Regions from separate parts of the Homo sapiens genome. Here region 2 is linked to region 1. The links are contacts of gene promoters, found by promoter capture Hi-C in blood cells and fetal thymus (Javierre and others, 2016). All regions are on one chromosome and are shown on one strand. Each heading gives the region's core, a stretch centred on a gene start or on the middle of the fragment in contact. The rest is flanking DNA. Distances are from core to core; before and after follow the strand shown.

What was found. Contacts are between HindIII fragments. The CHiCAGO score rates a contact against its expected background, and 5 or more counts as called.
Region 2: the fragment with the promoter of ARHGAP27 here is called in contact with the fragment with the promoter of PLCD3 in region 1 in 1 of 17 cell types (neutrophils); the score reaches 5.3 in neutrophils.

The regions. Positions count from the first base shown.
Region 1 is chr17:45,131,191-45,133,881 of GRCh38, reverse strand. It overlaps PLCD3 (phospholipase C delta 3), which reads left to right and starts at 1,367. Exons shown (of 15, transcript NM_133373.5): 1 at 1,367-1,634. The coding sequence starts at 1,472. It also overlaps a transcript of ACBD4 not described here. RefSeq lists an enhancer at 574-643 and silencers at 1,114-1,333, 1,434-1,563. The HindIII fragment of the contact is 26,016 bases long and covers 1-2,691 here.
Region 2 is chr17:45,431,553-45,434,243 of GRCh38, reverse strand. ARHGAP27 (Rho GTPase activating protein 27) reads left to right here and starts at 1,374. Exons shown (of 20, transcript NM_001282290.2): 1 at 1,374-1,492; 2 at 1,895-2,028; 3 at 2,492-2,623. It also overlaps a transcript of PLEKHM1 not described here. The HindIII fragment of the contact is 25,899 bases long and covers 1-2,691 here.

The DNA.
Region 1 (2,691 bases), core at 118-2,617:
GGCAGGATCAAAAGCACAAAGGCGAATACGATAATCAAGAAGAAAATTCAGGGCCGGGCGCGGTGGCTCACGCCTGTAATCCCAGCACTTTGGGAGGCCGAGGCGGGCGGATCACGAGGTCAGGAGATCGAGACCATCCCGGCTAAAACGGTGAAACCCCGTCTCTACTAAAAATACAAAAAATTAGCCGGGCGTAGTGGCGGGCGCCTGTAGTCCCAGCTACTTGGGAGGCTGAGGCAGGAGAATGGCGTGAACCCGGGAGGCGGAGCTTGCAGTGAGCCGAGATCCCGCCACTGCACTCCAGCCTGGGCGACGGAGCGAGACTCCGTCTCAAAAAAAAAAAAAAAAAAAAAAAAAAAAAGAAAATTCAGGACCCCAGAGTGGCGTAGGGACCCAAGCCAGTGTGCAGAATCTCTGGGCCTGGGAGATCTGAGGATGGGGTAGAGCAGGGCAAGTAGGTGGCAAATCAGGCCCTGAGCACTAGCCTCTCTGTAGGATGCCACGCCGCTGGCCGCCGCAAAGTGGCGGTGTGCGCCCATGTCTCTGCCGGACCCAGGCCACCGGCCGCAGAAACGCTGCCACCTGGACGTCCCCCACTTCGCGCACGCACTCTGGTGCTTGCATATAAATAGTAAGTGCACACCCGACTCGGCCACCAGAACCTGCACACGGATGCCCACCCACGGGTTGACGTCGCGGACAACTACACCGCGGGTGCCGGGCTGGGGTGCCGGCCTGTCCAAGCCTCGAACCCAGAACCAGTTGCTGGGGACTCCAGGCTCGGCTCCGCCTCACGCTCCCCAGGTCCGTCAGCTCCGAGACTGTGGCTCTCCGAGGGGGCAGCACCTGGCCTGGCACAGGGAGGTTAATCCTATGACGTCACTGCCAACCTCCCCACCCCCATGCCCATCCCTTCGGGTTCGCGCTGCCCCGAGCGGCTCAGCTCCCGGGGTTCTGCCTTCGCTCCCGGCCCTGCGTCCTGTCCCGGCTCTGGTTCCCTGCTGAGGCCTGCGGCGCGACGGGGACGCGGAAGGGAAGGAGGAGGGGGTCCTGCGTCAGCCTCGAGTCAGGGCCCCCGGGAAGGAGAGGGTGTCTGTGCCAGAGGATGGCCCTCGTCCCCGGTGCCGGCTCCCACCCCCAGCCCCGCAGCATGGGGGCTCTAGTCACCCTTGCGGCCAAGATCAGAGGCTCGCCCGGACTAAGGGGAGACGGACTCACGAGCAGGGGCGAGCGCTGAGGCTCCGGGCTTCCAGGCCACCGCCTGGCCCCGCCCTCGCACCGCCCCGGCCCCGCCCCCTTCCCTTCCCGCCCCGCCCCGCCCCACCTCCTGCTGCCTCCTCCGACTCCCTCCCGCGCCGCTAAGTTTCTTCGCTCGCCGCCTCGCTCAGAGCCGGGGCCGGGCCAGAGCGGCGCCCCGCTGCCCTGTCCCCGCGTGCAGACCCCGGGCCCGGCCCCGGCCCCCCGCCAAGCCATGCTGTGCGGCCGCTGGAGGCGTTGCCGCCGCCCGCCCGAGGAGCCCCCGGTGGCCGCCCAGGTCGCAGCCCAAGTCGCGGCGCCGGTCGCTCTCCCGTCCCCGCCGACTCCCTCCGATGGCGGCACCAAGAGGCCCGGGCTGCGGGCGCTGAAGAAGATGGGTCAGTGACGGGCAAGGGGCGGTGGGGTGGGCGCGGACCGTTCCCAGAGGCCCAGTCTGGGGCGCTCCAGGGAGCAGTTCGTGGATTCCCCAGGCTGCACGGGGCTGGGAGGCTATGGCTAGGGGCGGAGGGCCAGCTCCCTCCAGCTGGGGGTCGCACCTGGGGTCATCCGAGGGTCCCGGGGCGAGCCGGGCGCCCAGGGTGTTCTTTGCTTCCCACCAGGGGGCGCTCGCGGGGCGTCTGAAGCGCGAATTCGGGCACGGGGCGCTGGTGGGGTCTCCAAGGAGAATGGAGCGGGAGAGGGAGGCTTGGGGTGTCCCTCGTCCGGCTCCCCAGCAGTATCTAGGTTCTGCCAGGGTGTCTCGGGGTCTTGGCAGCCCTTAGGAAGGATGCGAGTTTGCGGTCGGCCTCCGCAGAAGAGGCTGGCCTCCACAGCAGCCCTCCAAGCCGCGGCCCCACAGAGGCGGCCACAGCCACACTGCTCTGGCAGGACTGGTCTAACAGCCTACGTCCGACAGCCAAGGCTCTCACCTCAGATTTGGGGAAGTCAGTCGTGGAGAAGGAATGTAACTGTGGCTCATTGGAACATCACAGAGGCAGCTGGCACTGGGTGGGTTACACAGGTGGTGTCTTGCAATCTTCCTCGACTTCCTAGGTGGGAGGTGAATCCTCATTTCACAAGTGAGGAAACTGACTCAGAGACGGCAAGGAATTTGCCTATGACCACACAGCCAACAAAGGGCAAAGTGTGACTGGCACCCCGGTGGTGCCCCACCACATGGGCCCTGGTACCCTCTCAGAGTCTGGGAAAAGTGGGACCCGCAGGGCAGTGGAGGGCTTGAATGAGAGGGTGTGTGCGAGAATGTTGTCTGACGTGGAAAGGACCGCGCCACTGAAGTGCTGCGTTGGACCTGCCATTGGTAGAATAGTCAGTGATGGAGAGGCTAGGTGTGGAACTCCGGAACAGAAGGACAAGGCTGCCAGGGACCCCGTGTAGAACTTGGGGCAGAATTCAGGGGTCCTGATTGCCAGTTTTGCCTTCTTGTTACCTCGACTC
Region 2 (2,691 bases), core at 125-2,624, 300 kb before region 1:
CACTGCCAGCCACTGCCTGGCTGTGCTGCAGGTGGAGAGGGACCTAAAAGGTAGGGAGGGAGAGAAGATTCCTCCAGCCACGATTTTCTTTTTTTCTTTTTTGGTTGTTGTTTTTTGAGACGGAGTCTTGCTCTGTCGCCCAGGCTGAAGTGCAGTGGCACGATCATGGCTCACGGCAGTCTCCGCCTCCCAGGTTCACACCATTCTCCTGCCTCAGCCTCCGGAGTAGCTGGGACTACAGGCTCCCGCCACCACGCCCGGCTAATGTTTTATATTTTTAGTAGAGACGGGGTTTCACCGTGTTAGCCGGGGTTTCACCGTGTTAGCCAGGGTTTCTCAATCTCCTGACCTCATGATCCGCCCGCCTCGGCCTCCCAAAGTGCTGGGATTATAGGCGTGAGCCACCGTGCCCGGCACCAGCCACTATTTTCTAAGCATGTCGGGCACCAAAGACCAGTGCTGAGTTCTGCTGTGTGCCCACCCTGGAGGGTCCCAAGGTGCCACCAAGGCTCAGACACACAGATTCTCAGAGGAAGTGTGGACTCACAGGTGGGCAATGCCTAGCAGAGGCAAAGATATAGAGGTAAGGGAGTTCCTTACTTACTATATCTTACAAAGATATAGAGGTAAGGGAGTTCCTTACTTACTATATCTTACAAAGATATAGAGGTAAGGGAGTTCCTCTGAATCTGGGTGGCCAGATTCAGCTTCCCACCCAACCCTGGGTCCCCAGGAGGTGGTGTCAAGAGAGGCCATGGCCTGGGATGCGGGCCCTTCTTCCTCCCAGAACACTGGCCTGAATCAGCCAGCTCTTGGCACACACAGCCAGGTCCACAGGCACAACTGTTCCTTGGGGCCCCTGAGGGCAGGGGGTGTGCTGGGGCTGTGGCTTGTAATGTCTGGAGTGAGTGCAGGCTCAGATCAGGGCGAGGCTGCTTGTCCAGAGAGGCAGAAAATTCTCCAACAGAAGACCCCCAAGGCGGAGGGCCCTGGGGCTGGACTCCTGGAGGTTGTTCTGAGCTTACCCTGTGGACGGATTGGAGGGTGGCCCTCCTTCCCCACAAGGATCAAGAGGGGGTGGGGGATGGTGGGAGGGCAATCTGGCCAGGCGAACCTGCGGGGGAGGCTCCCGCCCTCCCCAGTCCCACCATCTCAGCCCCGCAGCCTCTTTCTCCCTGGAGACAGCCAGGTGCGGCCCAGGATCCCGGGAAAGGCAGGGGAGGGGGTGGCGTCTTCGCTCCTCAGGCGCTGGCCCGGCCCAGAGGGGACAGGAAGCCAGGACACCGGGGATTGTCTCTCGCAACCGCAGCCCAGCCCCAGTCCGGGAGGAAGTTCTGCCCGGCGCTCTCCGCCGGTGCCTCCCTGGTTATATTGTTGAACAGGAAACCCGGCAGCGCGGGAGCCGCACAGTCGAGGAGGGAGCGCGGGACGCCGAGCCCACGCGCGCCTGCCGGGGCAAGTGGAGGCGAAGCCGGCGAGCGGACGCCCCGAGGTGCCCGGGCAGGCAGGGTCGGGAGTGGGGCGCCGAGCGGGGGTTGGGGGTGGGAAGTGGGGTGGGGGTGGGGAAAGGGCAGGGTTGGGAAGGGAAGGGTGCGGCAGGTGGCGGGTCCGCACCCGGGAGCTCCGCGCGCCTGCTCCCCTTGTCTCCGCGCTGGGGCGGGAGCTGCGCGGGCCGCATCCCACGGGGAGGAGAAGGTAGGCGAAGGGCTGCCCTCCATCTGGGGGCTGGAGGGAAGCAGGCCCAGGCCCCCAGCGCCGACCCAGGCGTTGACGCCCCTGTAGCTTGAGTCGCCTGGGCAGTGGACGCAGGGGACCTCCTGGCGACTGGTGCGCTGTCGCGCTCCAGGGATCCTCCCGGCTTCCCCAATCCCTCCCCTTCTCTGCGTTTCCCCAGGGTCGGGGAAGGAACCGAGGTCCGGTCCCCTTCTTATCCAGCCCGAGACATCGAGCTCCGGTGGGCGTCCCTGCGCTGGGAATCCCGCTCGGAGTTTTTCCAGGCCCGGCCGGGCTGCTCCGGGAAAGGCCCTGGTGAGGGAAGAGGTGGGCCCGGAGCGGGCGGATTTGCAATCCGGTTGGAAGGGCTCGCAGTGGGTGATTCAGGGTGCAAATGACCTCCCCGGGAACAGGAACGCCCGCACGAGACAACCAGCCCCAGCCCGGCATTCCCAGAGCCGCGCACAGGAGGGACGCAGGCACTCCCGGACAGCAAATCCCGGGGGGTGGGGGGTGGGGGGGCGGGGAATAGAGGGGGAAGGCGGAGCGGGGGCGGTCCCATCCTCCTTGGGCTCCGCTCGCGACCTGCCAGTGCCCCTTCAGACGCAGCAGTCCCGGCTCCAGGTGCCGGCCTTCTGCTCTGGGCCTCGTCCCAATGCCCCCCAAGGTCCCCAGCAGAGGCATTCAGGCTCCTCCTCGCCCCACCCAGACACGGCTGCTTTGGGTATCGGTGACAGCACTCCTGAGCGTCCCTGTCCCTCTTCGCTCTGCTTGCCAGCTCCTGTTCCGCGCAGCCTCTCCGGCCTCGCCCCTGGAAACCCCGCCCAGGGCGATGGTAGGGGCCTAACCTGCAGCCACCGCCGGCTCCGCCCACCCAGCCCATGGGCTCCCTGAGGCCCGCCCAGCCGACGTGAGTGCGCTGCGGGGTCCAAGGGGAGGGGGCGCCGGGGGAGTGTCCTGCTTGGGGTTTGTTGGTTC